Regions from separate parts of the Homo sapiens genome. Here all the other regions are linked to region 3. The links are contacts of gene promoters, found by promoter capture Hi-C in blood cells and fetal thymus (Javierre and others, 2016). All regions are on one chromosome and are shown on one strand. Each heading gives the region's core, a stretch centred on a gene start or on the middle of the fragment in contact. The rest is flanking DNA. Distances are from core to core; before and after follow the strand shown. Region 1 overlaps SPOCK2 (SPARC (osteonectin), cwcv and kazal like domains proteoglycan 2). Region 2 has its middle 22 kb from the start of LINC03139. Region 3 holds the start of DNAJB12 (DnaJ heat shock protein family (Hsp40) member B12). Region 4 has its middle 49 kb from the start of SPOCK2.

The links. Contacts are between HindIII fragments. The CHiCAGO score rates a contact against its expected background, and 5 or more counts as called.
Region 1: a contact is called between a fragment that was not itself captured here and the fragment with the promoter of DNAJB12 in region 3, in 2 of 17 cell types (naive CD8 T cells and activated CD4 T cells). The highest score is 5.9, in naive CD8 T cells.
Region 2: a contact is called between a fragment that was not itself captured here and the fragment with the promoter of DNAJB12 in region 3, in 1 of 17 cell types (total B cells). The highest score is 6.5, in total B cells.
Region 4: a fragment that was not itself captured here is called in contact with the fragment with the promoter of DNAJB12 in region 3 in 1 of 17 cell types (non-activated CD4 T cells); the score reaches 5.4 in non-activated CD4 T cells.

What each region holds. Positions count from the first base shown.
Region 1 is chr10:72,069,255-72,076,912 of GRCh38, forward strand. It overlaps SPOCK2 (SPARC (osteonectin), cwcv and kazal like domains proteoglycan 2), which reads right to left. Exons shown (of 11, transcript NM_001244950.2): 2 at 3,648-3,656; 3 at 3,249-3,294; 4 at 2,890-3,004; 5 at 1,058-1,172. Among named protein-coding and RNA genes, the nearest start is that of SPOCK2, 15 kb to the right of the region's middle. RefSeq lists enhancers at 1-334, 515-1,016. The HindIII fragment of the contact is 4,690 bases long and covers 2,630-7,319 here.
Region 2 is chr10:71,896,033-71,903,226 of GRCh38, forward strand. No RefSeq gene overlaps it. Among named protein-coding and RNA genes, the nearest start is that of LINC03139, 22 kb to the left of the region's middle. The HindIII fragment of the contact is 1,602 bases long and covers 575-2,176 here.
Region 3 is chr10:72,348,916-72,356,592 of GRCh38, forward strand. It overlaps DNAJB12 (DnaJ heat shock protein family (Hsp40) member B12), which reads right to left and starts at 6,004. Exons shown (of 9, transcript NM_017626.7): 1 at 5,850-6,004. The coding sequence starts at 5,982. RefSeq lists enhancers at 5,461-5,590, 5,981-6,230. The HindIII fragment of the contact is 22,726 bases long and covers 909-7,677 here.
Region 4 is chr10:72,035,505-72,043,006 of GRCh38, forward strand. No RefSeq gene overlaps it. Among named protein-coding and RNA genes, the nearest start is that of SPOCK2, 49 kb to the right of the region's middle. The HindIII fragment of the contact is 474 bases long and covers 3,821-4,294 here.

The DNA of each region.
Region 1 (7,658 bases), core at 3,725-6,224, 280 kb before region 3:
TCCTCCCTTTCTTCTCCCTGGATGACCTCATCCCCACAGCAATGTCAATCATCACCCACAGCGGGTGACTGAAATCTGCATCTCACTCCAAGAAGGCCCCTCAGCCCTGGCACCCACCCCAAGCCAGCTGTCAGTGCCCTCCCAAACCAAGCAATTCCCGACTCCTTGTTGCCAGTAAAAACATTCATTATCAGCACCTGCATTTCTATGTTACTTTTTTTTTTTTTTTTTTGGAGACAAGGTCTCACTCTGTCACCCAGGCTGGAGTGCAGTGGTACAATCATGGCTCACTACAGCCTCGAACTCCTGGCATCCCCCTCAGCCTCTCAGATAGCTGGAATCACAGGCACACGCCACTGCACCCAGCTAATTTTTGTATTTTTTGTAGAGACAGGGTCTCACTATGTTACCCAGGCTGGTCTCAAACTCCCGGATTCAAGCAATCCACCCGTCTCGGCCTCTCAAAGTGCTGGGATTGCAGGCGTGAGCCACCGTGACCAGCCTAAAATTTTTTAAATGCTTTCTCAAATATTGTCTCCTGAAATCCTCATAAAAATCCACATAAGGTGCAAATTCATTCTCCCAATCGGTTCCTTCTTCCATCACCTTCTTATGGAGGATTATTTCCTGCTGCCCCAGAAGGCCCCTGCTCACTGGTGAACACTGGCGCCTCCCTGTGGAAATCCTCCTTTCTTCCCCCACTAACAATTGGATGCCAGAGCTCCTTCTTCCACAGCCCTCCACACTTGGCTGAGGTCTTCCCTCAGTTCCTTTGACTTGCAGTTACCTGACCATAGTGTCTCTTCCAGGCCCCACTCCCCACCTGCACCTGTCCGAGGTCAGGGACAGACAGGGTCTGGCTCCAACTCTCAGGTAGTTCCAGCCAGGGCTGCAGGTGGCCCCAGTATGGCTGGCTGCATTGAACACACTGACCTTGCCATCTGGCCCCACCTCAGTCCTGGAAACCCCTCCGGAGGCCCCAGCTGGGTCATCCTTTCTGCTTCCTGTGGCCTCAGGTGACTCCACCCCCACCCTACCTGGGGCCTGGGCTCCTCACCACAGAGCTGTAAGTGTGGCCATCTGAGCCGCAGACAGAGGCAAGCTGGGCCATGTGGCAGGGCTTGCAGATGGAGTCTTTGTTTCCATGGAGTTTCACGGTCGGCTGCTTGATCCTACAGGAGAGGGTGGGGGGCACACCAGGGTGGAAGTGACAATGAGGAAGGAGCAGGGGAAGGGAGGGCTGAGCAGACCTGTTCCAACAGGAAGGCAGCAGCAATCTTCAGCAGATCAGCCCCTTCCTGCCCCTGCCCACCCTCCCCACACTGCTGCCAGACCCTCCTCCAGCTCAGAAGGGTGGAACCAACTGAGCAGGGCATAAATTCCCCCAGCTTCTCTTCTTCTAGGAGTCACTGAGTCCCATGGGGCCTTCAGGTAGCAACTCCAGGTCTGAAGGCCAGAGGTAAAAGGGGGTCACACTTCACTTAGGGGGTCAGACCAAATCTGAGGTTGCAAACTGATGACCTCTGGGCCATACTTGGCCACCAAGTGTTTTTTTTTTTAATTGAGTTATTTATGCACTAACATTTACCAAATGGGAGAGTTCACATAAATACCTGGATTCTTGGCCTGTCTTTGAAAAATGGAAGCATGGGAGTCCTGGACCTGCATTCCTACATAGCTGTAATAGACCAGGGCCAAGAAGCAGCTGCCTGCTTTCCACCACACCTGTGCTCCACAGAGTGGCCCGTGACCAAGCACTCTTCATGCATTACATTACCGGCCATGCCCCTGCAGCCTTCTAAGACTGCAACCCCATCTTTCATCTTCTATGATTCAGGAAAGAAGGGAGGGAACTGGAACCTTTTCCAGGGTCTTGGAGCCAGGCAGAGCCTTGTCCTTGGGCTGGAGCTAAGACTTCCTTTTTTTGTTTGTTTTGTTGTGTTTTTTTTTTTTGAGACGGAGTCTCACTCTGTCACCCAGGCTGGAGTGCAGTGGCGTGATCTCGGCTCACTGCAACCTCCGCCTCCCAGGTTCAAGCAATTCTCCTGTCTCAGCCACACGAGTATCTGGGACTACAGGCACAAGCGACCATGCCCAGCTAATTTTGTATTTTCAGTAGAGATGGGGTTTCACCACATTGGTCAGGCTGGTCTCAAACTCCTGACCTTAGGTGATCCACCCGCCTTGGCTTCCCAAAGTGCTGGGATTACAGGCAGGAGCCACTGCACCCAGCTGGAGCTAAGGCTTCCTTAAATGTCCCTCACTCCTTTCTCCTCTGCAAGCTACAACCTCTCACAAGCTACCACCTTAAATATTTCATGAAGTCACTGCATGTCAGAGCTGAAAGGAACCTCAAATTATATGGTCTAACCTATTTGTCTTAGAGATACTACATCAAGGCCCAAAAAGGAGATGTGACTTTCCCTGCATCCCACAGGGTTTGGTAATTGTTCTCATATGGTGTGGCTTTCTCCTTGCTCATCTCTTAAATGACTTACTTTAGGTGAAGGCAGCCGCCATGTTGTGAGGACACTCAAGCATCCCTATGGAGGGGTCCACATGATCAGGAACTGAGGCCTCCCACCAAGAGCATAAGAGTGAGCTTAGAAGTGGATCCTCCAGCCCGACAAGCTTTCAGATGAAACAGCCCCAGCCAGCACCTTGACTATAACCTCAAGACAGACCCAGAGCCAGAACCATCTAAGAGAACCACTTCTGGATTCCAACCCTCAGAAATGATGTCAGATAATACATATTTGCTGTTTTAAGCACTAAGTTTTACAATTTATTTAACAGCAGTAGATGGCTAATTCATAAGGAGAGGGTCAGTTGAGCCCTTGCTCTTTGAACACACCCCCTCCAGGGCTCCCACCTCCCCAAACCTCTCACCTGTGCTCCAGCTTCTTGCGACTGATGCACATGGCCCGCTGGTAGCCCTGGGCAATGCACACCTTGTGGCGGCTGCACTTCACCTTCTGGCAGGGGTCCTTGGTGGTATCCAGGGCTGCAGGGGCACAGAGTCAGGACACAGGTCACCTGGGAGAACCCAGGAACCTCCAGCCCCACTTCTGAGCTGGGAGGCCTCTCCCTCCAGCAGCCCTTGATAACCAGAGCTCCTGAGCTCAGGAGTCCCATCCCCACCGGGGCCTGGCTGCTCAAGGAGCCCCCAAGCGGGCTAAGGGCTTGCCCTCTGGTCTCAAGTCTTCACACGTGTCAGTCACCTTCCCCCGCCGGGAGAGTCATGTTACCTTCATCTCCTTGCTGATTGTCCTCCCAGCTCTTGATATAGTCATCCTAGAGGACAGAGAGGGACAAGGGAGAAGGGAAAGGCTAAGATCCATATCCCAGAGGTTCAACTGCGGGGTCGAGGAGAGGCCTGGGCCAGCGATGTCATGTGCCAATGGCCGTCATCCTGGTGGCTGACCCCTGTCCACCCAGGCCCTGCCAGCTGCCTCCCCCACACCTCTATCCCTATAAACCCATGTCCAGAATCCTTTCCAGCCTCTCCCGTGAGCTCCTGATTGCTCCCATGCCACACTGGAGGCTGGCAGGGAAGGCAAGTCAGAATGAGGGTGTGGAGGGACACAGGAGGGGAGGGGGTGTGCTCTGCAGAGACCACACAGAGTGGGGTCCTGGGCAGTACTCACCTCCACTTCCTGGAGATCAGGGAACAGCAGCAGGCCATGGAAAACGGAGCAGGAAGAGAAAGGGAGAAAGATGGGGATATCAGTGTGAGGCCCTCTGGTGTTCCTGGGGTCCCCTGCCTCATCATGTGGCCGAGCAATGGCCTTCGATGGCTGTGTTCCTCTGACCCCCAGGAACCCCAATAAGAGGCCAGTATTCTTACGTCTTCATCACAGAGCTCAAGACTGGCCTTAGGAGTAGCAGGGGCCCGTGGCTTTGAGAGGGTGGGGCACCCCCACTCCGTTCCCAGTCCAGCCCCAGCCCCACCACCAGGACAGATGTCCGAGGTGCCCATGCTGCGTAGGAACAGAGCTTCTCATGCCTATGCCCTGGGTGTCTCAGAAACTGCCTGAGAAACGGTGCACTGTCTGTCTCCTGCCAAGGCCCCTTCCTTGTCAGTCCCCACTCCTGACCTCTGCCCACCATGTGAGTGAGGTGGGAGGAAGACCCCCTCACCCAGTCTGCAAAGGGATGCTTTTTGCTCAAGGTCTGACATCTCTGCAGAGCTCAGCTCATACACGGAGTGAGGGAGGAGGCCATGCCTGTGATGAGGCTTGCCCAGTTATCACGATTCAGCTTCAAACCCTCAGAGGCAGAGGACCCAGAAAGGGTCCTACGAGGTCACCTGGTCCAGCCCCCCCTTTGTGCCGGAGAAAGCCCAGAGACAGATGACCTGACCCAGGTCCTCCCGTCACACAACCCAGGTCTCCCGATGCCCAGCACAGACCACTTTTCTTGCTACAACACACTCTCTGAGGCCTAAGGCACAAGGGAGACCTTCTCACCCTGCTCCAGCTGCAGGGGCCTCTCAGGCCCGTGGACCGCAGAGTGGCCAGAGGCAGAGAGCCTCCCACCTGACCCAGCTCCCTGGCAAGAACACTCAACTTATCTGGCTTCCTCCCTTTCCCCTACGGGGCAGAGACAGTTGCTAAAAAACACCTAACAGTCCCAGGGCACTCCTGGTGGAAACTCTGCCAGGCAGGCAAGGAGGGGGCTTCCCAGGCCTGCAGGCTGGCAGTGACAAGGACCAGCTGCCCACTTCCTCTGCGTGGGGCTCCAGGAGGGGCTCTGGGAGCTGGGGGGAGAGGGGCATGAGAAGCTACGCGCAGCTGCCCCCTTCATCCTGAGTTCTGCCATAGCCCAAAGGAGCAGAGATGTGTAGGGGTGAGCAGAGCTGTCAGGTCTGGGGGAAAAGGGCGGTGGGGCCATGGCACCAAACGGCACCCACATGCGTGCAGCAGTGGGCACACAGAAGGGTGCCTAAAGGGCTTTGAAATCCAAGGCCTTCAGGCTTCTGAAGCCTCCCCTGGAAGCTGGCAAGCGTCAGAGCAGGCAGGGTGAGGCCTCCTGGACAAAGGCCGAAGGGGCCAGACCCGAGCAAGCAGTTGGCATCACCACCGAGAAAGATGCGGTGTGCACAGGCATAGACCTGAGTGCATGCTTCTGCATGTGTGTGTGCATTTATGCAGACCCAGGTGCACCCATGCACACTCACAGGTCTGTATTATGTAGCATGTGTGTGCAGGCATGTTTGTGTGTATGCACATCCTCATTTATGCACAGGTGGACATATGCACACACATGTGTAGTGACAGAAGGAAAACAAGGACACTAACAAGGACATTGTTCACCCAGTGCCAGATGGTTTTTATCCAGAAACGAGGTAACAAAACCCACTCTGTGAGCAGCCTCCAGTTTCACACTCGAGGCTCTCCCTCAGGCTGGCCTTCCTGCCTCTTCCGCAGTGAGAGAAGGAGGCAGCAGGAGTCGGGAAGGATGGGGAGGGCGGGAGGACCGCAGACTGCTCCCGTGAGAGCCCACGGCGGCTCTCTCCCTCTCTCTCCTTCTTCCTCTTGCTTTCACGTGCCTCCCCGTGTGTTCCTGTGTCCCTCTCTCCTCTGTCTCTCATTGAGCCTCTTCCTCATCCCTCTGCTCGGCCCACACCTGGCCCACACGTACCTGTCCTAGCAGCCAAGAGTCCCGCAGCCCCTGGGCCCAGGAGCAGACAGAGGAAGGCTGCAGGGGTGCTTCCTGGGAGCCTGTGGGGCACCTGGCCCAGCACTCACCCCATCCCTCAGGCTTGACCTGAGCGCTCCTGAGCCCCCAGGCAAGCCTCTGGGGAGGCTGCAGGCACCACTTCCCTCGTTTGCTAAAACCAACGAAGCCTTCTCCAGGAGCTCCTCAGGGTTCAGGGGTCCTCTGCTGGGGGTCCACCCCACAGGAGATGGAGGGAGGCCAAGAGAGGTGCAGCTGCTGAGGCCATGATGACAAGGGTTGGGGCAAAAGTGGCAACTGGTCTCCATCAGCTGGGGTCTTCCCGTCTGTACCCATCATCCCCTGGGGCAGGGGTGGGGACAAGGCTGTGCAGGTGATGGGAAATGGCTGGGTTCTGGGAGGGAGGTATGAGCCCTCAACCATACCTGCCCTCAACCAACAAGATCTGTGTGCCCATAACCCACCTGCCCCAGAGTGGAAGTAGGGAAGGTGCCTCCAGCCCCTGGGTGTCATCTGAGGCCCCTGGCACCGGCTCACTCCCACCTTCTGGCCCAACCCTGCTGCCTTAACCTCCAACCAGGCCGTGAGTGGAATTTTTGGGACTCAGTACACAGTGGATTCTCAAAGGTCAAGACCAAGAATTTATGATTAGAAATTTGGGGGAAAGTGGGGATGGCGTGGGAGTTCTAAGAAAGGGGCTTTCCCCAGCTGCTCCACCATCCCCCACTCCCTTCCTGACTCAGCTGGCAGGGAGGGAGCCCCTTCTGTGCAAAGCACTGCCCCCGGTTCCAGCCTCGACTTTTTGCCTCTGCTGTGGCCAGGCTGGGCAGGCAGGATGGAGGGGCCCCAGTGGATCTGGATTCCAGGACCCTCACTCCCAGGAAAGCAAAGGCAGCCAGCCAGAGAGGGACGAGGAGAGCAGGGCCCTGGGGTCCTGCAGATCCCCAGGCTTCCCCCGACCAGTGCACCTTGGGCAAGCACCCGACCTCGAGGGGCTCAGTGCCTATCTCCCAGGACTACTCAGAGATTAAAGCAGATGGCACCTGCGGGGTGCCTGGGGTCCAGGAAGCACTTAACAAATCAAAGCTGCTATGATGGAGAAGAGACCCCCGGACTGCAAGTGCGGAAAATGAGGGACAGAGATGCCACATGAGGAACCCCAAAAAAGTGGAGAGGGAGAGGCCACCATGGGGACAGCAGAGACCAGAAGGGATACGAGGAGAGTCCCCTAGGAGGTCTTGTGGGGAGGAATGACGAGGAAGTCCTCTGGGCAGCTGGGGAGTGGCCACTCTGAGGGTAAAACTCAAGGACACACTGAGGGGTCCCTGAGGCCAGGTGTGGGCTGGCGCCACCTTTAAGCTGAAAAAAAGGTGTTTGTTGGCAAGTGCAAATAATGCCTTTCAGTGCAGTGTTGGGTGTCTATTTATGGCACCCCAGTGGGCTCATTAGCAGTTGTGAGAAATAGTCTGATCAGGGCACCTGGGGCTTCTCAGGAAACAGAGGCCCCGTTCTACACCTGAGAGTGGTGGCAGGTGGCTCTGCTGCCGACCTCACCTGGAAAATGGGGATTTGGAAGAGCTCGTGGCTTGTATTGCATGGTGCTTATATATGCTTATCTATCTACCTATCTATATGAGTAAAGCTTTTAATTTAAAAAAATGTTTTAATAGAGATGGGGTCTTGCCATGTTGCCCAGGCTGGTCTTGAACTCCTGGGCTCAGGCAGTCCTCCTGCCTTAGACTCCTACAGTGCTGAGATTATAGGCGTGAGCCACTGCACCCAGCCTGCATGGTGCTTTTAGAGTAAGTTCTCTCCAGGCATTTGGATGGGTCTGCCTTTTATCCTCACAGTCCTGTGAAGTAGTCAGAGCCAATAGGATCAACACCAGAAGAAAGGAGAAAACGAAGGCTCAGAGAGGCAGAGCAACTGGCCAGAGATGGCAAGACAAAAGAGGAGCTGAGTCAGGGTTCCCCATCGCC
Region 2 (7,194 bases), core at 126-2,625, 460 kb before region 3:
GTTCATTATTACTTTTTGATAAATTAATAAATATCTGGGTCCTCAATAATTCTTTTAAAAATTTTTTTATAATTTAAAATAGAGATGAGGGCTGGGCTCGGTGTCTCGCGCCTGTAATCCCAGCACTTTGGGAGGCCAAGGTGGGCAGATCACTTGAGGTCAGGAGTTCAAGAACAGCCTGGCCAACATGGTGAAACTCTGTCTCTACTAAAAATACAAAAATTAGCCGGGCGTGGTGGCTCATGCCTGTAAACCCAGCTACTCGGAGGCTGAGGCAGGAGAATCGCTTGAAACCAGGGGGCGGAGGTTGCAGTGAGGGGAGATCACCCCCCTGCACTCCAGCCTGGGCGACAGAGCAAGACTCCTTTTCAAAAAAACAAACATGTAGCAATGAAGCCATTAAAATAATTTATTTTTTATTTCTTTTTCTTTTTGTATGAATCGACTTTGGATAAGAAAAAAATCTACTTTTTAAAGAGCTGGGTTTGTGTGGTGGGACACCTATTGGGTGCAACAATGTGGAGAACACTGCCCTCTGGCGGTCACTCCCAGTATAGTACCAGAGAGGTGGGGAAGCTTCCCTTGCTATTCTAGGACTGACCATGAGACGGCAGAAGAATACAGTATTTGCTTCTTTTCTATTTCTATTATACTTGCTTTTCTTTTTCTTTTCTATTTCTATTTGCTTCTTTTCTATTTTCTGTTCCTTCTTTTCTATTTTTTTAAATTTAAGTGTAGCTAAGGGGACTCACTATGTTGCCCAGGCTGATCCCCGACTCCTCGGGTCAAGTGACCCTCTCACCTTGGTCTCTCAAAGTGCTGGAATTATGGGCATGAGCCACCATGCCTGGCCTAAAACCCTGTTCCTAATCTCTAGGTTGGTCCTCAAAGCCTCACACTCAGCCGGGTGCCCAGGGATTGGGGCAGGAGTGACCTCACAGAGCTGCCCACAGTAATGATGCCTGAAGTGCTCCAGCTAGCAGGCTAAGCCTTGTCTTCTCTGCCTCCACAGCAACTCATAGCAGCCCTAGGGAAGGCCACATCCCAGACCCCTAAACCCAGAGAGACAGAACGCAGACCTGGGTGGCAAGGACTCAGTAAGTTATTGAGTGCCAAACCGGGCCACCACTGTGCTTGGCTTTAGGAAAACTTGACATCTATAAAACTTTTAATCTCTAGTAGGTGCTCAAAAAAGCCATTCACTCTTTCATGTAACCAAGAAAAGATGTTTGAGCACCTGCAAAGTGCCAGGCACTGTCCTAGTCACTGAGGACACAGTGAGAAGCAAAAGGGGCCCAGGTCCTGCCCACATGGGACTTATAATTTGGTGAGGGAACAAAAAAAATTTAGTCTCAAAAAACCAAAGTTTGGTTAGATGCTGTGAAAAAGGATGGGGTTCTTTAAGGGCACCTGAGAGAGGGGTCTTGTTTTTCCTGGAAGCCAAAAAGAAGCATAAAGGTTGATACGGTTTGGACGTTTGTCCTCCAAATCTCATGTTGAAATGTGATTCCTGGCTGGGCATGGTGGTTCATGCCTGTAATCCCAGCACTTTGAGAGGCCAAGGCAGGCAGATCACTTGAGGTCAGGAGTTCGAGGCCAGCATGGACAACATGGTGAATCCCCATCTATACTAAAAATACAAAACTTAGCTGGGCATGGTGGCACGTGTCTGTAATCCCAGCTACTCAGGAGGCTGAGGGAGGACAATAGCTTGAGCCTGGGAGACAGAGGTTGCAGTGAGCCGAGATTGTAGTGAGCCGAGATTGTGCCACTGCTCTCCAGCCTGGCTGACAGAGCAAGACTCTGTCTCAAAACAAAACAAACAAACAAAACTACCTCTTAACTTAGTCCCCTCGCATTTTTTTTTTTTTTTTTTTGAAACAGAGTCTCAGTCTGTTACCCAGGCTGGTGTGCATGCAGTGGCACAATCATGGCTCACCTTCCACCACAGACTACAAACATGTGCCACCACATCCGACTAAGTTTTTTTTGTTTTTTTTGTTTTTTGGGGTTTTTTTTTTTTTTTTTGTAGAGATGGGGATCTCACCATGTTGCCCAGTCTGGTCTCAAGCTCCCAAGCTCAAGTGATCCTCTCATTTCGGCCCCCTAATGTATTGTCATTCCAGCCATGAGCCATGGTGCCCAGCATCTCCTGCTTTTTAACTTTGTTTTTAAAAGCTTCTTGATTTTTGTTTCAATTTAATACTGTCTTGGCAACTTTTTAACTTTTTGTTGTTTAGTCTCACTCTCTTGCCCAGGCTGGAATGCAGTGGCCAGATCTCAGCTCACTGCAACCTCCACCTCCCAGGTTCAAGCGATTCTCTTGCCTCAGCCTCCCGAGCAGCTGGGATTACAGGTGCCCACCACCATGCCCAACTAATTTTTGCAATTTTAGTAGAGACGGAGTTTCACCATGTTGGCCAGGCTGGTCTCCAACTCCTGACCTCAGGTGATTCACCCATCTCGGCCTCCCAAGGTGCTGGGATTACAGGCATGAGCCACTGCGCCCAGCCCAATTCTGCTATTAAAGGACTCTGATGCATTCTTCAGTATGCCAATTGCATTTTTCAGCTCCAGAAATTCTGCTCTGGATGTTTTTTAATTATTTCAATCCCTTTGTTAAATGTATCTGATAGAATTCTGAATTCCTTCTCTGTGTTATTTTGAATTTCTTTGAGTTTCCTCAAACAGAATTCTGTCTGAAAGGTCAGAGCTCTGTTTCTCCAGGATTGGTCCCTGGTGTCTAATTTGGTTCATTTGGGGAGGTCATGTTTTCCTGGGTCATGCTGCTAGCAGATGTTCTTCGGTGTCTGGGCATTGAAGAGTTCAGTATTTATTGCAGTCTTCATTGTCTAGCCTTAGTTGTCTTTTTTTTTTTTTTTTTTTTTTTTGAGATCAAGTCTCACTTTGTCACCCAGGCTGGAGTGCAGTGGTGCGATCTCGGCTCACTGCAACCTCTGCCTTCCGGGTTCAAGCAATTCTCTGCCTTAGCCTCCCAAGTAGCTAGGATTACAGGCGCCTGCCACCACGCCTGGCTAATTTTTGTATTTTTAGTAGAGATGGGGTTTCACCATCTTGGCCAGGCTGGTCTTGAACTCCTGGACTCGTGATCCACTCTCCCCAGCCTCCCAAAGTGCTGGGATTAGAGGCGTGAGCCACCGCGCCCAGCTGTACCCGTCCTTCTTAGGAAGACTTTCCAGATATTGAAAGGACTTGGGTGTTGTGATCTAAGCTGTATCTGCTTTAGGGGGCACCCACACCCAGTAACACTGTGGTTCTTGCAGACTCATAGAGGTACTGCCTTGATGGTCTCAGACAAGATCTGGGCGAATTCTCTGGATTACCAGGCAGAGACTCTTGTTCTCTTCCCTAACTTTCTCTCAAATAAATGGAGTCTCTCTCTCTGTTCTGAGCCACCTGAAGCTGGGGGTAGAGTGACACAAGCACCCCTGTGGCCACCAGCACTGTGACAGTGCTGCAGACCCAAAGCCAAGACAGCAATGGGTCTTGCCCAAGGCCTGCTGTAACCACTCCCTGGCCACTGCCTATGACAGTTCAAGGGCCTGGGGCTCTGCAATCAGCTGGTGGCAAAGCCAGCCAGGCCTGTGTCCTTCCTTCCAGGGCAGTGAGGTCTCCCAGGCCCTAGGCAGGTCCAAAGATGCTGTCTGCAAGCCAGGGACTAGAGTCCAAAATCTTACAAGTCTACCTGGTGTTCTATTGTACTGTGGCTGAGCTGGCACTCAAATCACAAGACACAGCCCTACCCGCTGTTCCCTCCCCTTTCTAAAGGCAGAGGAGCCTCACCCCGTGGCCACCACCACCACAGGCCCACAGGGAGTTCTGCCAGAGTTCCCTTAAGGCCCAAAAGCTCTTCAGTCAGCTTGTGGTGAATGCTGCATGGCTGGGACTCACCCTTCAGGGCAGTGGGCTCCTCTCTGGCCCAGGGTAGGCCCAGAAATGCCACCCAAGAGTCAAGTCCTGGAATTGGGGACCCCAAGAGTCCACTTGGCACTCTACCCCTCTGTGGCTGTGCTGGTTCCTAAAGTGTAAGACAAAGTCCCCTTTACTTTTCACTCTGCTTTGCTCAAGTGGAAGGAGCCTCACCCCACAGCCACCACAGCTGGGAATGTGCTGAGTCTCACCTGAAGCCAGCAAGTCTCAGAGGCTCACTGAGGCCCTTGACATAGCTCCTGGGCATCGCTGCTGGTTATTCAGGGCCCAAGGGCTCTTCAGTCAGCAGGGGGTGAATGCTGCCAGGACTGGCTCCTTCCCTTCAAGGCAACAGGTTCTCTTCCTGCCAAGGGTGTGTATAGAAATGTCATCTGGGAGCTAGGGCCTGGAAGTGGGGTCTCTGACTAGTGCCCTATCCTGCTGTGGCTGAGCTGGTAGTCAAGATGCAAGACAAAAGTCCTCCCCACTCTTCCCCTCTCCTCTCCTCAAGAGGAGGGAAGGGGTCTCTTTTGGAGCCATGAGCTGTGCAGCCTGGGGTTAGGGGAGGGGTGATGCCAGCATGCCCTTGGCTGCCCCAGCTGATGTCTCAATAGGTCATGTGCCCTGCCCCCCAACTGGCTGAGTGATTTTGAGTGACCTTGAACAAGTCATGTCACCACTCAGAGACAGATAATGGGTATGAATCACGCATTCATTCAACAAACACTTCTTGGGAGCCTGTCGTTGCCCAGGCCTGTTCAGGACACTGTGCAGGTAGCCTGGAGCAGGACTCTCGCTCTGTTTCCAGGCTTTCCAGTCTAGTGGAGAATCTGGACACAGACATGAACAGGTGGTCACGCTACTGTAGTGTGCACAGAGTGACCCAGCATGGTAGCCTGGGGGACATAGGCGCTCTTGCAAACCAACTCCTGGGGACTCGGCCCAAACCCTTTGCTAGCCAGTCCTCCGTGGAGGCCATGATCCGCTGCAGCTGCTGAGCCTGGGGTGGTGGATGGGTGCAGCCGGCCTGGGGAAGGAGGGTATGGCACAGATGCCCTCCGTCCCCGATCCCCAGGCATCCCTGGAAGTGGCTTTGGGGAACAAGTCCCTCGAATACCCTTGAGATTATTTTGTCATTTGCTCTTTTTCTTGAATATGACGGGGGGTGGGGGGCGGCAGATGTGTGGCTGTTACAGTTTGCCCTGCTTGCCCTCCCTCTCTCCCTCCCCATTCCCATCTTCCCTCCCCATTCCCATCTTCCCTCCCCATTCCCATCTTCCCTCCCCATTCCCATCTTCCCTCCCTCCATCTGCCATTTGCAGAACCCCTTACACATTTTCCCAAATCAGCAGCCCTGTGAGTTCCTTTGGATCAGACAGCTGAAAAACAATAGCATCAATTAAATGTTCATTGTTGGAAAGCAGAAAGAACTGTCGCCCCTAATCTTGCTCCTCAGAGAGAACCATTGAGAATATCTTGGAAAATAGACATCTAGTTTTTTTTTTCTCCATGTGTATTCATTTTATTTTATATTTTATTTTATTTTATTTATTTATTTTTTAAGACGGAGTTTTGCTTCTGTTGCCCAGGCTAGAGTGCAATGGCATGACCTCGGCTCACCGCAACCTTTGCCTCCTGGGTTCAAGCGATTCTCCTGCCTCAGCCTCCCGAGTGGCTGGGATTACAGGCATGTGCCACCAAGCCTCGCTAACTTTTTTTTGTTTTTTGTTTTTTGTTTTTTTTTAGTAGAGACGGGGTTTCTCCATGTTGGTCAGGCTGGTCTCAAACTCCCAACCTCAGGTGATCTGCCCACCTCGGCCTCCCAAAGTGCTGGGATTATAGGCATGAGTCACCGTACCTGGCTTTATTGTTATTTTTTATTTTTTGAGATGGATTCTTGCTCTGTTGCCCAGGTTGGAGTGCAATGGTGCCATCTCGGATCACTGCAGCCTCTGCCTCCCCGGTTCAAGTGCTAGGTGCAGTGGCTCATGCCTGTAATCTCAGCACTTTGGGAGGCTGAGGCAGGCAGATAACCTGAGGTCGAGAGTTCAAGACCAGCCTGGCCAATATGGCAAAACGCCATCTCTACTAAAAATACAAAAATTAGCTGGGCATGGTGGCGCACATCTGTAGTCCCAGCTACTCAGGAGGCCACGGCAGGAGCATCACTTGAACCCAGGAGGTAGAGGCTGCAGTGAGCCGAGATCACATCACTGAGCTCCAGCCTGGGTGACAGAACGAGACTCTGTCTCAAAAAATAATAATAATAATTAAAAATAAAAATTGATATATAGTTTTACACTATAGGGTCATATTGTATATATTTCATAACTTTGCCTTTGCAATCCATGTGGTTCCTGTTTAAAGAGAGAGAGACTGAGGCAGAGAGGATGGAGTGACTGTCAGAAAATGTTGGGGCAGAGTGGGGCGTGAACCCCTCTTCCTGTCCTGTCCCTCAGGTGCCTTGGAGCAATTTCAGGGCCCACCTAAAGCTGGTAGGGCAGAGGCTGACGGCCCATTGGACTGGCCCCTCCGCCTGCTTTCCAGATGGTGCAGGACATGGAGCCTCTGTCAGCCATGCAGTGTGACCAAGACCCAGCCCCCACATGAGCACCCACCTCACATGCCCTCCTGGACACACAGCTGGGCTGCATGCCATGGTCCGGGCAAAGCATCCCTAATGTTTTCTCTAACGCTGAAAAACAGACAAAAAGAGTTCAGAAATCACCCCCAGATCCCACCACTCTACACATCGTCCAGTAAGAAGGGAAATGCCCATCTTTACCCATCAGCTCCCAGCACCACCGTCCCATCCCCCACCCCTGCCACATTCTAACCTCTGTTACCGGTTTGGGGCATAGTCTTCCCAAACTTTCCCCAAGTTTAAGTAGACATCACTTTACGGGTAAGTGTATAGATAGTTTACAGAATAATACATTTTTTCCTTCTTAAACATGGGATTAGGCCGGGCGCAGTGGCTCATGCCTATAATCCCAACACTTTGGGAGGCCGAGGAGGGTGGATCACCTGCAGTCAGGAGTTCAAGACCAGCCTGGTCAACATGGTGAAACCCTGTCTCTACTAAAAATACAAAAATTAGCTGGGTGTGGTGGCACATGCCTGTAATTCTAGCTACTTGGGAGGCTGAGGCAGGAGAATGGTTTGAACCTGGGAGGTGGAGGTTGCAGTGAGCAGAGATCATGCCACTGCACTCCAGCCTAGGTGATCAAGCAAGACTCCATCTCAGAAAAAAAAAATGGGATT
Region 3 (7,677 bases), core at 4,754-7,253:
GTACTGTGGCAGACTGCTGCCATGACCACACAGCTGGTTAGGAGGCAGAGGGGCCTTCGAACCCCAGGATGTCCAGCTCCAGGGTCCATGCTCTTAACTACGCTGCTATCCTGGGCTGCACGTGTCTGATGGGGTGGGGATCGGGGACAGGGATGCAAGCAAAAGCATAGAAGAGACATCAAATTCAGAAAGGCCCAGATTCAAATCTCAGCTCTGCCATTCCTAGCAGTGTGACCCTGGCTGATCTATGAAATCTCTCTGAACCCTGGTTTCGTCACGGTGGCGGAGGATGAAATGGGATAATGTGTGTAAGCACCTGTGCCGAGTCTGACAGAGAGTGAAGGTTCAAGGCTGATGAAGTGTCTGGCCACAGAAGTGGGCTGGCCAGGGAAGTGAGGGAACCTGTGGTGGGGGCTGGGGAGGAGGAGGGCTGGGTAGCGGGGGAGCTCCAAGGCTCAGGAAGGCAAAGACTCAGCGCTCAGCAGACTCTGGAACCAGTAGTAACCATGAGATTTCAGGCCATCCCAGATACCAGGTCCATGCCAGCTACCAAGGGGATGGCAAGAGAAACCGAAAGATGAAGAGATATTGGTCAAGGCGGGGCAGGAGGAGGAGGCAGTATGCTGTTTCCTAGAGCTTTTCAAGAAGCTCTTTATTATTTCAGTTCCTCTGGAAGTTCTGGTGGCCCAGGCTGAGCCTGGCAGATCCTAAGGGCAAAATAACCAGTTATTCAACTACCAGAGATGAGCAGGAGCACTAGCCAGGAGATGGGACAGGCTCTCTCTTGTACCTCTCAGAGAAGATTCTGGAAGCTTTTCAGGGCAGTTACAGGGAATCAGCCACTCTAATTTCCCTACAGTACAGAAAGAGAGCCCAAAGGAGAATGGGGGTGCCCTGGGTCACATAGAAGCTTTCTGCTTGAGTTGGAAATTAAAGATTTCCAGTTGCTGGCAAGTAGGGTCTCTCTTCTGGCCTGGGGGATGTGACAGCTTCATGCTTACATCCCTCATGGCACAGAGGCTGACAGGCAATGTCACAAAAAGAGACAGAACAGCTTAATGTTACCTTCTCAGTAAAGCTGGCAGACTTAGAAAAGGAAGGGAATTCGATAGAAGAGAACAGAGCTGCGGTGGAGAGGCACCTGAGGTAGAGCTGAGAGGATTTCTATGGCCAAAGCCACTGAACCCAGACTAGAGTTAGATTTGGCCGGGCAGTGGCTCACACCTGTCATCTCAGCACTTTAGGAGGCCAAGGCAGGAGAATGGATTGAGCTCAGGAGTTCGAGACCAGCCTTGGCAACACAGGAAGACCCTGTCTCTACGAAAATAAAAAAATTAGCCAGGTGTGGTGGCACATGCCTGTGGTCCCGGCTGTTTGGTAGGCTAAGGTGGGAGGATCACTTGGGCCTGGGTGGTTGAGGCTGCAGTGAGCTGTGATTGTGCCACTGCACTCCAGCCTGGGCAACAGAGTGAGACCCTGTCTCAAAAAAAAAAAAAAAAAAAAAAAAAAAAAGACTGCCCGATGGGTTCAAACCTAGCTCTGCCATTTGCTAGAAGGGTCATCTTGGACAAGGTAACTTAGCTCATCTGTGCAAAACTCTATCTCCATCATACAGGCTAAAAGAGGAAATGAGTGAATGCCAGCAAAAAACTCAGCCCAATGCCCAGCAAATATACAGTGTTGTCTCTGACCGTGACTTTGTTAGTAAGTGAGTAGCTGAGTTTCTGGGCTCTGTGTACCTACGGTGCTCACAGTGAGTCAGAAAAGGGCCTGGGATTGGAGATGGACAGCTCTGGGTCTTTGCTGGCTAGCCATGTGGCCTTGCCAGGTTAGCTGGTTCCTGAGTGGAGAGACGATCTCTGCTCTCATAGGAGTGCTCTGAGGGGTAAATAAGATTCTGTGAAATACAGTGAATGGAAGGGGGCTAAGTGCACAGTGGGGCTCATGAAGGTTGACTGACTTGAAGGGTACAACCCCACCCCGGACCTCGCCAGCACCAGAACATCTCTCACTCCTGGACTCTGAATGCAGAATCCCTCAGCAATCCGTCTCCTTTTCCTGTGGGCTGGCCTTCCCAGCTTGGCCTTCATGACTTAGCCCAGAGTCAACCATTTCACAGAACATTGGATAGCCTGAGCTGCAAGGAACCTCAGGATCATCCCAGCCAATCCTCTCTTTGTATGCTGGGGAAACTGAGGCCTACAAATGCTCTCGTGAGCTCCCTGGGAAATCTGGCACCTTCCACATTTGTTACAAAGCCTGAGTCAAAGCCAATGGCTTACCAGGCTGCCAGCTACTGGACAGAAACTCCCAGAAAGGGACTGACTGGCTCCACCATCTCTAGTCTGTGACCTCCCAGCTTAGGGCCCAGCTACTGCTTTGCAGTTTAACTCAGTGCCTCCTTGTCCCACCTCCTGCAGCAGGAGTTTCAAGCCCCCTCACATCCCTTTTTGCTGCAAAGGCCAACAGTGTGAGGTCCCTCATCCTTTCAAGGTTGCTCTGAGCCTCCCCTCTCTCGTGACTCTCCCCTCTCTGCCCTTCCACCTCTCCAAGACCATCCTCTGCCCATGCTCTCGATCCTTCCCTTTTCAACTCTTAACTTGTCCTTTTCCCATGCAGTGCCTGCGGCATCACACAGGGCTGCTCACCACCTGCTGCCATTACCTCTCCATGGCTACCTGGCCGCTGCCCTCTCCGGGGACTGCCTTTTCCTGTTGCTCCATCTCAATCTGTTGCTTCCTCTGCCTTTGCCTGTGGGCTCAGGGCAGGTGTTGCCTGCCATTGTGCCTGCAGCAACTTTCTCTCCATGGTCTATACTTTCCCACAGTGACCTCAGCCATGCACAACTCCAGTGAGCTCCAGGGAACAGACGATACCACACTTTCACCTGTAACCTGGAGCGCTCTCCTGAGTTCCAGGCTGACAGCTCCTTTGGACTATCCCACTGGCACCTCCCACTCTGCTCATCTCTTCCCATCTCAGTTCTTCAGCCTGGTTTCTTCCTGGTCACAGGGGCTTCAATTCTGATTCCCCAGCATCCCATCTGATTCTCCTCTGCACCTCTCTCTCACACAGGCCTGGTGCCTCTTTTCCAGGGACCTTAGCCTTATCCATGACTGCCTTGTCCCAGGCCCTCAGAATATCCAACCAGCTCAAGGCAATTCTCTCCTATTGGCTTCCTGCCCTGAAGCTCTCTTCCCTCTCATTAACCTTTCATGCTGTTCTCTTTTAACAACAGTGCCCGTACTTTATTCCTGCTATCAAAAACCTCAATGGTTTCCTCACTAACTACAGAATAAGGTGAAAATATCTTGGCCTGGTAGAAAAGGATTTCTATGATCTGGCCCCATTTTATTTCCCAAACTTAATCCTCTCTGTATACGAATTACCACCTCCACTGCCTCTAAATCTTGCTACACTTTGATCTCTTCCCCCAAACGTTACAACTTTCAGCTCCTTTGTCTTCTTCCAGGATGCCTTTCCTCAAGTCTCACACCGTCCTCCAAAGCACAATTCAAATGTTAACTCCTGTCATCCCCAAAGCATTCCCTCACTGTGAGATAACATTATTTTTATGCACTTGCTACAGCACTCACTAAACTGCTGATAATTTAATGTTCAGGAGATTGTCCTCCGCACCTCCTCCCCACCATCAGACTGTGAACCCATGGATGATGGGGCCTGATTTTTTCATGCCTGTCCTTAAGTCCTCAGCGTCTAACCTTGGGTTTATTTTTTGTTTAATTACAGTTCTGTCTTGTAATATTTGTTTCTGTAAGTTTTGTCTCTTTCACTAGATTATAAGCTCTTTTGAGGTGAGGGATCACATTTTACCAATCTTGCTAGCACCAAGCAGAGGACTTTGCAAACAAAACATAAATGATCTTCAACAAAAGTCTGCTGCATTGAATGAGCATCTGGGATGAGCCTAAACCCAAAGCAATAGACCGCCACCTAATATATCTGTATTACTCCCCCTGGGGAGGCAGGTAGCCAGCCCAGTGGGTAGCCCTGCCCTCTATTTTTGAAGTAAGATCTTTCCCTGTCCCAGACCTAAACTAATCCCAGGTCTTTGTCAGCTCAGTGGAGGGCTGCAGATGGTAAAGTTTACACGGATGCATAAGGCGTATAGTCTCATAGTCTTTCCAGAAAAGCACAAATATGACAAATATGCATGCAGGTGGTTCTTCTGTCTCAGCAAATTCCAGAGCCTGAGCCCCAGAGAGGACACTCCTTCAAGCTCCTGAACTGGTGCAGGGGCCTGCTGACAGAAAGATCCCCAGAGGCCCTGTGGCCCATCCTTTCTTGGCTGCCTGCTCCTGAGCCCGCAGCAGCATCAGTGTCAGGCAGAATTCTGACAGCTGGAGGATACCACCCCACCACAGAATATGAATTAATTCACAGGGAGGCTCCTCGAGCAGGTTACCTCAGGTGTCCTGGCAAATACAGCCCGAAACCCTCTCCAAGGGGAGGCAAACAGGCCAAAGATCAACCTGCAAGAGTCCGGAGGGAGGAAAGTTCAGCAGTCCAGGCTACCTCTTCCACCAGCGTTCCGCTTTCTCAATCTCATCAGGCGGGCAGGGCCGGTTAGGAGGCTGACTGCTGTTCCTCAATTTCATTTCTTTTCCTTCATAAACATTTACAGAGTCACAGAACATTTTACTTTCTAGCTGTGTCATCCTGGGCATCCCTTACCTCAGAGATTTTCCTCACCCATAGAATAAAGATAATGATCTTTGCTCTGCATCCCTGACTGGCAGGCTCAAGTGAGAAGGCACAGGTGAAGGAGCTTCCTAAACTGCAAAGCCCTATGGGTATTATTGCCAATCACATTATCTGCGCCAACCCTCTAATCTTCCCGAGGAGGAAACCCAAGCTCAGGAAGGTCACGTGGTAGCCGTCAGGATGAGACTGGGCCCTTCGGAGTGCCTGTTATTCCCAGACGGTTTACTGAGTGGTGATCACAAGCACCACCCGGTGTCTCTCTCCCCTCTAGCGTGGATTAAGAAAAACTCCTTGGAAAACTTAGGTTAAAGAAAAAAGAAAGGGTTCCCGGGTGAAGCGAGGTGATGAGTTGTAAAGCCAGCTTCACTCTTCCCTCCCTGGCTCAGGAGGCTCCTGTCCAGGGCAACTCAGCAGCCTCGGCGTCCACATGGCTGACCGCCGCTGGACTCTTGCGGGCGATGGAGGACTGGCGGTGGCTGAGGTCAGCACCTCCCACCAGGCCACCCGCTCCGAATCTCATCATCGGGAGGAGTGAGGGGCCCGGCTTCAGGACAGTCCGAGGCGGCGGACTGGGGTGGGTGCAAAGGCCGGCTTGCATTTTGGGAGAGTGGTCCCTGACCCTCAGCCCGAGAGGTGAGAGGGAGTGAAGATACGGAAGCGCCTTTCCCTGGCGCCCGAAGAACAGAAATGTCTCCCTGTCTAGCGCCCATTCTCTCCCTTAAAGGAGTTATGTTTATTTTCCTGAACTGTAATATTTCCCAGGCCGGCGACTGGCCTGGGCTACCGAACGGCCCCTTGGGAAAAGTAGTTCGAGTTCACTTCCAGGTAAGTTCCCTTCGTCCCGGCTGCCAGCGCGTTTCATTCTCGGAGACCTCAAACCCCAGCGGGCTCCGCCAGCACCCCGAAAGCTGAAGTCCCGGCCGCCCGAGTCTCCAGACGGCTCGCATCCCGCAGAGGAACAAGAGGGAAAAACTACGCCTCCCAGCAGCCACCGCGCGCCTCAGTGCGCAGGCGTAGCCGCGCCTCGCCACCCCTCCCCCTCCCCCAACTGCTCCCGTCGGTCCGTTCCCGTGTTCCCCCCATCAGTTCTAATGTCCCCAGTCTCTCCGGCACCTCACACTCACCGCGAACTCGCGGCGTCGGATACAGCCGCTGTGCCTTCTCCAGGAAGCGGAGCGCCCGGTCGGGCTGGTTGCTCTGGATGGCCTTGAGGGCGATGCTGATACAGCGCTCAGCTTCATCCTTGTTGGATTCCATGGCGGAACCAGAACGCGGAACCAGGGAGGGGGAGGCCGGGCGAGCGAAGGGCTGCGCCACCCGCCGGCGCGTCGCGGGCAGCCGGGCGCGGAGTGATGACATCCACCCTCCGCCCCTCCTTTCCCGAGTTTTGAGCGAGGGTGGAAGTGCTACCGTATGTCTTCTAAGAAAGGGACGGCTGGTGTAGGTGTCAATAATGGTGCACGCCCAGATTCCATGTTCCGGAGGTCTTAGAGTTGAGTATGCGCCAACCCTCTAATCTTCCGGAGGAGGAAACCCAAGCTCAGGAAGGTCACGTGGTAGCCGTCGGGATGAGACTGGGGCCTTCGGAGTGCCTGTTATTCCCAGACGGTTTACTAAGTGGTGATCTATATACGTAATGTAACTACATACGTTTCAGACAAAGGTTATTTATTCACTGAACAGATATTGAGTGCCCACTGTTTGTGAGGCATGGTTTTATGATGGGGATACAGGGGTGAGCAAAACAAAGCTCCTGCTCTCATGGAGCTTACATTCCAGTGTGTGTAGGCTGGGGGAGCTCCAGATAGATTCAGATAGTGATAAAAGCTCTGAAGAAAAATTATGGAAAACACAGGGATAGAGAGTGGGAGGCGCTATTTTAAATAGCGCGATAAAAGAAACCTCTCAGAAGCTGTCATTAACAGGTACCAGAATTCAGGAACGATAACAGGTAGATGTGACTGTCTGGAGGAAGGGTGGTCAGGCCGAAGGAACAGCAAGTGCAAAGGCTCTGAAAAGGGAATTCTCTTGGTGAGTTATAACAGATCAGGAAGGCGAATACATTCTAGGGAGCGTAAAGATTCTACTACAGGCTGGGCGCGGTGGCTCACGCCTGTAATCCCAGCACTTTGAGAGGCCGAGGCGGGCGGATCACTTGAGGTCAGGAGTTCGAGACCAGCCTGACCAACATGGAGAAACCCCGTCTCTACTAAAAATACAAAATTAGCCGGGCATGGTGGCACATGGCCTGTAATCCCACCTACTCGGGAGGCTGAGGCGGGAGAATCGCTTGAACCTGGGAGGTGGAGGTTGCGGTGAGCCAAGATCACACCATTGCACTCCAGCCTGGGCAACAAGAGTGAAACGCCATCTAAAAAAAAAGAAGAAAAAAAAAAGATTCTACTACAGAGTGTAATCCAGTTCTATCATTATCCCGTTCTTCGAGGGCTATCACTCCAGTGAAAGCAATCTTGTGAAGGTTGCCAGTGACCTCCACGTTGCCGAATCCCCGAGTCATCTGTCAGCCCTTACATTGCTTGGCCTTTCAGGCAGGATTTGGTAAGATGCTACTACAGTAATCCGGATGAGAGTCAGGAAGCTACTATTATAATACAGGTGAAAATTAATGGTAACTTGGATAAGGGTGATGGCGGAGGTGGTGAGTAGTAGTAAAATTCTGGATATATTTTGAAGACAGAATGACGCAATGGATGTGGGCTGTGAGAGAAAGAAGATTCAAGGATGATTCCAATGTTTTTGGCTTGATAACTGGAAGAAGAGAATTTCTATTTACTAAAACAAGGAAATGGAAAAGACTACAAAAGCAGTTTGGTGGGGGAATATTAAGGGTTTGATTCAGTTTATGATGCTTTTTAGAATCAAGCAGAGATACAGACTAGGATGTTGTACATACGTAGGGTTTAGGCAAAAAGGACCTGGAAATATAACTTT
Region 4 (7,502 bases), core at 2,808-5,307, 320 kb before region 3:
CTAAATCCTCCTGCCAGTTTAACCTCAGCTAGCTGTGCCTTCCGTGGATGTCCCCAGCAGGCCCAGCACAAAGCATGGCAGGAGCTCTCGGGGACCCGAGTTGGCGTTTCTGTCACCTGGTCTGCTGTGAAAAGGGGTGGGCTGCACAGGCTCAGCTGGCCTCTTCCTCCGGCCCTGAGCGTTCGTTGGCTGACCTGACGGATCTGCTGTGCAGTATCTGTACTGTAAGAACATGTGACGGGGCAGCAGCCTGAGAGGACCTAGGGCTGGCGGATGCAGGGTTCTAGGCTGAGCTCAAAGGGTCTGGGCCCCTACCTGATAGCTTCTGAGTCAGTGTCACTCTGGACAGAGCCTTTTTCCAAAGCAGGACACCCAGGAGAGGGTTCTCAGGAGACCTGGGGCCCAGTGGCCCTTGGTGGCTGTATTTCCCCTCCAGTGTGGTAGCTCCTCAGGGGTCTCTGTGCTGCCTCCCCAGTTGTCCCCACTGGGTCTGCTAGCATCACAGGGAGAAGCCCCCTGTTACCTAGTCACCCCTTCCCTCCTTTCCCCAGCCTGATCTCCTAGTCCCTCCCCTCCTCTTTCAGGGCAGAGACTCCCAGTGGAGAGGAAGGAGGGGGACACCAGGCTCTAGGGCCTGAAAGGAGGGGCTGAGACGCCTGGTGTGACCTCACCTTGGGACATTACAGCCCCTCGGGCCTCCATTTCCAAGGCTGTAGCGTGCAAGTGAAGTCTTCGCTTCTGCCCCGGGGAAGCCCTGCCCTGTGCATCCAGGGAGGCTTTTCCAACACACACAATGTGCATTTCTTTTCTTTCTTTTTTTTTTTTTTTTTTTTTGAGACAGAATCTTGCTCTGTGGCCCAGGCTGGGGTGCAGTGGTGCAATCTTGGCTGACTGCAACCTCTGCCTCCCAGGTTCAAGCGATTCTCATGCCTCAACCTCCCAAGTAGCTGGGATTACAGGCGCAAGCCACCACGCCTGGCTAATTTTTGTTTTTTCAGTAGGGATGGGGTTTCACCATGTTGTCCAGGCTGGTCTTGAACTCCTAATTTCAGGTGATCCACCCGCCTCGGCCTCCCAAAGCGCTGGGATGACAGGCGTGAGCCACCGTGCCTGGCCACGCAATGCGCATTTTTGAACTGATGAGAAATGGAAAGAACCAAAGGTCCACCACGAGGGGAGGGGCAGACACATGGCTGGAGAGTCCTATTATGAAAGGTATGCAGCAGTCAGAAGCTAGGTGGGCTGACAGAGAAAGGTGTCCAGGAATTTTTTGTTTTGTTTTGTTTTTTTGTTTTTGAGGCAGAGTCTCACTCTGTGGCTCAGGCTGGAGTGCAGTGGCACGATCTCGGCTCACTGCAAGCTCCACCTCCCGGGTTCATGCCATTCTCCTGCCTCAGCCTCCCAAGTAGCTGGGACTACAGGTGCCCACCACCATACCTGGCTAATTTTTTTGTGTTTTTAGTAGAGACGGGGTTTCACCATGTTAGCCAGGATGGTCTCGATCTCCTGACCTCGTGATCCGCCCGCCTCAGCCTCCCAAAGTGCTGGGATTACAAGCGTGAGCCACTGCGCCCGGCTGAAATATTTTTAAGTGAAAAATGAAAATTGCAAAACAACACATACAGTATAAATAATTTATATGAAAACAAACTGCTATACATTCTCTAAACATACTGATGTGCAGGGAAAGGTCTAGAAAGATATATTTTACATGGGTTATAGCGGTTACCCGAAGGGGCTGAAGGGGTGACCAAGGAGGATTTTCACCCTCCGGAGCCCTTCCCCCAGGCGCAGCGAGCCTATCCAGGCGCCCAGACCCCACAAAAGGAATGGAATTTCTAATCCCAGGGCTAGGGCCAGGTTGTACCACTGGCACTCAGAGTGGGAATCCTGTGTGGCTTGTAAATAACTAACTTCCTGGCCACTGATAGTAAAACTGCCACAGTCACCTTTTATTAACCACCCACCAAGGGCAAGGCACGGCCCGGCATCTCCCTCACAGCAACAAGGTGAGTATTATAAGCATGGAATTGACCGTCAAGAACTGCAGGGTCTGAGTTTCACCCTGCTTTTAGGCTAGCAAGGTAGCCTGCCATGGTTTCATGGATGCTGGCAGAAGACGCAAGACTCCTGGGACCCAGACAAAGGGCTTTATTGCTCAAACACAACAGGCAACAGGAGTTCATGTTCGCCTTGGTTCCCCTTGTCTCGTGGGGCAGATTTGGAGGTGGGCCCATGTTCAGTGGGTTTAGCTGAAGAACCCCAAACCTGGAAAACTCCCAGTCTTAGGAGGGGGCTTCCAGCAAACTTGCCCAATCTTTGCCCTGATGGGAAGCATTGTTTTTATTCCCCTGGAAAGCAAACAAATAAATCTTCCCTCTTCCCTGGAGGGAGACGCCAAAATCGCTAAGCCAAAGGGAAGAATCAAGCTGGGAACTAAGTCAAGCAGGTCCTTAACCTGGGAACTGAGTAGTGCAAACCTGCCTCCCAAGACAAAGCTACATACCTCCCTCACAATTTGCCTACAAGGAAATTCCTTGTCCTCCCTCACAATTTGCCTACAAGGAAATTCCTTGTGGACAAAGGACAGACAGAGTTCAGAGTCATCCCTCTGCTCACAGGAGACAAATGCAGGTCTGATTATTTCCTCTGCCCTATTGTTTCACTAAGCCAGACTACGGCACAAGTAGCTATTCCTGTAAATTGGGTATTCAGTGAAAAGCTAATCAGAAACTCAAAAGAATGCAACCTTTTGTCTCTTATCCACCCTATGACCTGGAAGCCCCCTCCTTGCTTTGAGTTGTCCCACCTTTCCAGACTCAGCCAATATACATCTTACATACATTGACTGATGTCTCATGTTTTCCTAAAATGTATAAAACCAAGCTGTGCCCCGACTACCTTGGGCATGTGTCCTCAGGACCTCCTGAGGACGCATCCTTAACCGTGGCAAAATAAATTTTCTAAATTGATTGGGACTTGTCTCAGCTACTCTGTGTACACTTCCTAGGCTGTTGACTACACAAACGTCCTTGAAAAGATAATCCAGAACAAAAGCTGTCACAAGACAAGCAGGAATGCAAGGGGCCCTGGAGAACGATCTCCCAGCGTCAACAGACTGGGGAAGGGAGGCGCTCAGAAGTTGAGTCACTTCTAAAGGTCACACAGCCAGGACACACCTGACCCCAAAGCCCTTGTCTTTCCCTCCTGCCTCCAAAATGGGCTGCTGGTCTAGCCTGGGAACCAAACACCCACACGCAAGATTGCTTCCAAGTGAGTGTCCATGGTGTCATGGTTATCACGGTCACCTAGCAATATTGCTTCCACGGGAAAATCCGCTCTGAGTTCTGAACAACGACTTGTAGCAGAATCGTGGGCACAGGGCCTGTCTGTGGCTTGTGGAGCAGGCGCCGCCCAGATGTGCCTGATGCTGGGATCGAGTCATCCCAGAAGAAAAAATTCCTCCCTGGCTGCCCCTGGGTGATGTCAGAGGAGCTGGAAAGAAGAAATGAGCTTCTGGAGGTGGGATAAATGCTCTTTTCTTTTGCAGAAGGAAAAAAAAAGGTCACGTTGTTCCATATTTATTTAAATATGAAATTTATTTATAGAGCAAAAAGAGTTGGTGTTGACTTCCAGCACCCGGCCGGGAAGTGGTTTGGCCTTGTTTTTGTCTCCTCAGAGCACCCTGTCCCCTGGTGACCTAATGTGATTTTTCAGAGTTGGAGGCTAGACCCTGTCCCCAGGCTTTCAGACCTCCCTGGTCCCACCCAGTCTCTGGAGCCCATCCATCCCCGCCTGGAGAATGGCAGGTTGGGGCTCAAGCTTGGCACTGGGCTCCTCTGTCACTCAGTCCTCATCTGCAAAATGGAGGCGCGCACATCTGCCTCATGCCGCCCTCGCAGATAAAAAGCAGTCAAATAGTAAGCCAAGCAGCTTCTCACTTGGTAAATTGCTAATATGTGCATCTGTATTTATAGAGAAGGGAGCTGAGGTTTCAAGGCTTCCCTATCTGTAGTCAGCCACTGTCCCATAGTAGCCTTTGAAGAAGGTACGTCCCTGTCACAGCGCCCCTCTCGACTTCCTCCCGGCCACCCAGGAGGAGGTGTCTTCCACAGCTGTGCCTCTGAGCTGTCCCTGAGTCGCATGAGGTTTGTATTCTCAGAGGCTTGGGCAGGGCTGAGACTGGGGCCTCGTCCTGTAGAGAGTGAGGACTCTTACCCAGGAGATGCTCCCTACAAGACCCTTTAACATTGCTTATTGCATTTTAACTTCACAGCAACCCTGGGAGAAAAAAAGCTTTAACGCCGTTTTACAGATGGAGAAACCTAGGTTCTGAGGGTCTTGTGTGGCCAGGCCTCACGGCCAGTGGGGGTCAGAGATGGGACTAGAACAGGGACAAGTCTTCCACTGTCTAGGCCTGGCTTCCTGTCCCCACACTGGAAAGCTTCTGAACCGTGACGCCGGACTGAGTGCCTGCACCCCTGATGCCATCTCTGATGTCTCACGTGTTGTGGTACAGCCTCAGTTTCCCCCTCTGTGCCCTGGGATGATGCCGGGCTTCTCGCCACCTGAGATTCTCATGGGATTCTAAGTTCTCCTCAGTTGAACTGTGTGGAGTTAGTTTGGAAAAGTCCAGAGAGGGTCAGTGATGTACCCAGGGTCACCCAGTGAGCTGAAGCATGCCAGGACAAGGTCCGAGCCCCCCGCCGTAGGGTCAGGGCTCTGCCAGCCACACCTCCATGGCACAGGCCTCTGCAGGGAAGTGGTGGTGGTGGATGGGTGGCCGCCCTGACTCAGGGTGAGCACTGAGAACCCTGTTCTTGCCTTATGTGAAACCATTCCTGGGTATGTCCCAAATAAGCTCCCATGGCAGACAGGGAAATTACAGGGCGGGGTGGCGGTGAGGAGGCCAGGAAAGACTAGGAGGACAGAGAGGATGGAAAACCAGGAGGAGCAGGCCAACCGCCCACACTTTCCTGCCAAGGGATGACTGGCAGCTGTGGAGATGGCACCTGCAGCAAGGTGCACCCAGGGGCCTTGGGGAGGGCCAGGCCCCCATCTCGGGAGATGCCTATCTGACCCAAGGCTGGACAGCTGGGGCTGGAGATGACCCCATGACATCTCTCACCACCCAGGCAGGGTAATGAAGGTGTCCCCTTCGCCTGGAACACTTGCTGCTCCCTCATACTTCAGGCCTTAGTTTCTCTCTTTAAAAAAAAATTGTATAAATATAAGAGGTACAGGTGCAGTTTTGTTCCATGCATAAGGTGAAGTCTGGGGTTTTAGTGCAACCATCTCCTGAATAGTTTACATTGTACCCATTGAGTAATGCCTCACCCCTCACTCTCTCCCACCCTCCCGAGTCTGCAGTGTCCTTCATTCCCCTCTGTGGGTCCATGTGCACTCCTTTTTTTTAGCTCCCACTTACAAGTGAGAATATGCGGTATTTGACTTTTTTTCTGAGTTGATTCACTTAAGATAATGGCCTTTGACCAGGCGCAGTGGCTCACACCTATCATTCCAGCACTTTGGGAGGCCAAGGTAGATGGATCACCTGAGGTCAGGAGTTCGAGACCAGCCTGGCCAACAGGGTGAAATCCTGTCTCTAGTAAAAATACAAAATTTAGCTGGGTGTGGTGGTGGGCACCTGTAATCCCAGCTACATGGGAGGCTGAGGCAGGAGAATCACTTGAGCCCAGGAGGCGGAGGTTGCAGTGAGCTGAGATCACGCCACTGCACTCCAGCCTGGGTGACAGAGAGAGACTCCATCTCAGGAAGAAAAAAAAAAAAAGATAATGGCCTTTGGTTCTATCCATGCTGCTGTAAAAGACATGATTTCACTCTTTTTTATGCCTGCATAGTATTTTATGAGCATATATACCATATTTTCTTTATCCAATCAACCATTGATGGACACTGAGGTTGATTCCATATCTTTGTTATTGTAAATAGTGCTGCTATAAACATACAAATGCAGGTATCTTTTTGATACAATGACTTCTTTTCCTTTGGGTCGATGCTCAGTAGTGGGACTGCTGGATTAACAGTGGTTCTAATTTAGTTCTCAGTTTCGAGTCACCTTCTCAGGAGGGCCTTCCTGACCTGCCTGGGTAGAGCAGCCCAGCCTGCTGGGTGCTGGTGACTATTTTCACATGCTTTATTTCTGCCTCATCGTCCTGGATCCACAAACTTGTGAAATCCATGGAGCTCAGCTTTGTCTGGCTTCCCCCACTGCCTCCAACACCCAGCACAGGGCCTGGCTTGCAAGGGGTGCCTGGTCCCTCTGCACGAGGCCCAGAACTATCATCGTAGTTCACTTGCTCACAGGACAGGATGACAGGAGGGCAAGCTGCACCAGTAGGTGTTCACGGATGCATGGGATAAAGGCAGGGCCCCACACAAGATAAAAATGCAGGGCTCTAGTTCAAGGATTCCTGAGCAAGGTTAACGTCAGTGGTGAGGCCATGTTTGTACCATGTGCCTTTGGTATGATGTGAGGGGAAGAGCACTTTACCTCTGGGGTCCTCCCAAAACCCCATAACTCAGTGGGCACAGTGGCTCACACCTATAATCCTAGCACTTTGGGAGGCTGAAGCGGGCAGATTTCCTGAGCTCAGGAGTTCAGGACAAGCCTGGCCAACATGGTGAAACCCCATCTCTACTACAATACAAAAAATTAGCCAGGCATGATGGTGCATGCCTGTAGTCCCAGCTACTCGGGAGGCTGAGGCAGGAGAAGCTCTTGAACTGGAGAGGCAGAGGTTGCAGTGAGCCAAGATCGTGCTACTGCACTACACCCTGGGTGACAGAGGGAGACTCTGTCTAAAAAACAAAACAAAACCCATAACTCCAGTCTAACCAGGAGAAAATCATCAGACAAATCCAAATTGAATGACATTCTATAAGATAACTTACCAACACTCCTCAAAGACTATGAGGAATTTCAAGACGACAGCAGAGTGTTAAACCAAACGCCAAGCCCTTCTAAGCACAGGGCCTGGGCGATAGCACAGGCCACATACCTGGGAAGCAGCCTGGGCAGGAGGCCTGAGAAGCAAATGTGGGGTGCCCCAGGCCCCCACAGCCCTTGGAAGCAGGAAAGGCGTCCCTGTGAAGGAACCCTGTGGGTGGGGGTGAGGATGGGGGAGGAACCAGGGGCCTGAGCTGCAGAAGGGGTAAAGGTGTGACTGCGGGCAGGACCCAGGGCCCCTCTCTGAGGGTCCTCAGCACAGGGGGGCTGCCATGAAGTTGGGCACTGCCCATGCAGGCCATGCAGCCCATCTACAAAGAGACCCCCATAGCTGCAGGGCCCCAGCAGCTGGGACATCAGAGTTCAGCCACCCACAACCCATGAGTGTCCCCTGCATCCCGAGTCTGCTCCTGTCCCCAGCAACAAGCAAAACAAAGATGGAAGGAGCCCCCTCAGTGTCAGAGACCCCTCACCGTGAGGGTTCAGCTCTGACCCCCACTAGGGCGTGCAGAAGCAATGCCCAATCAGGAAC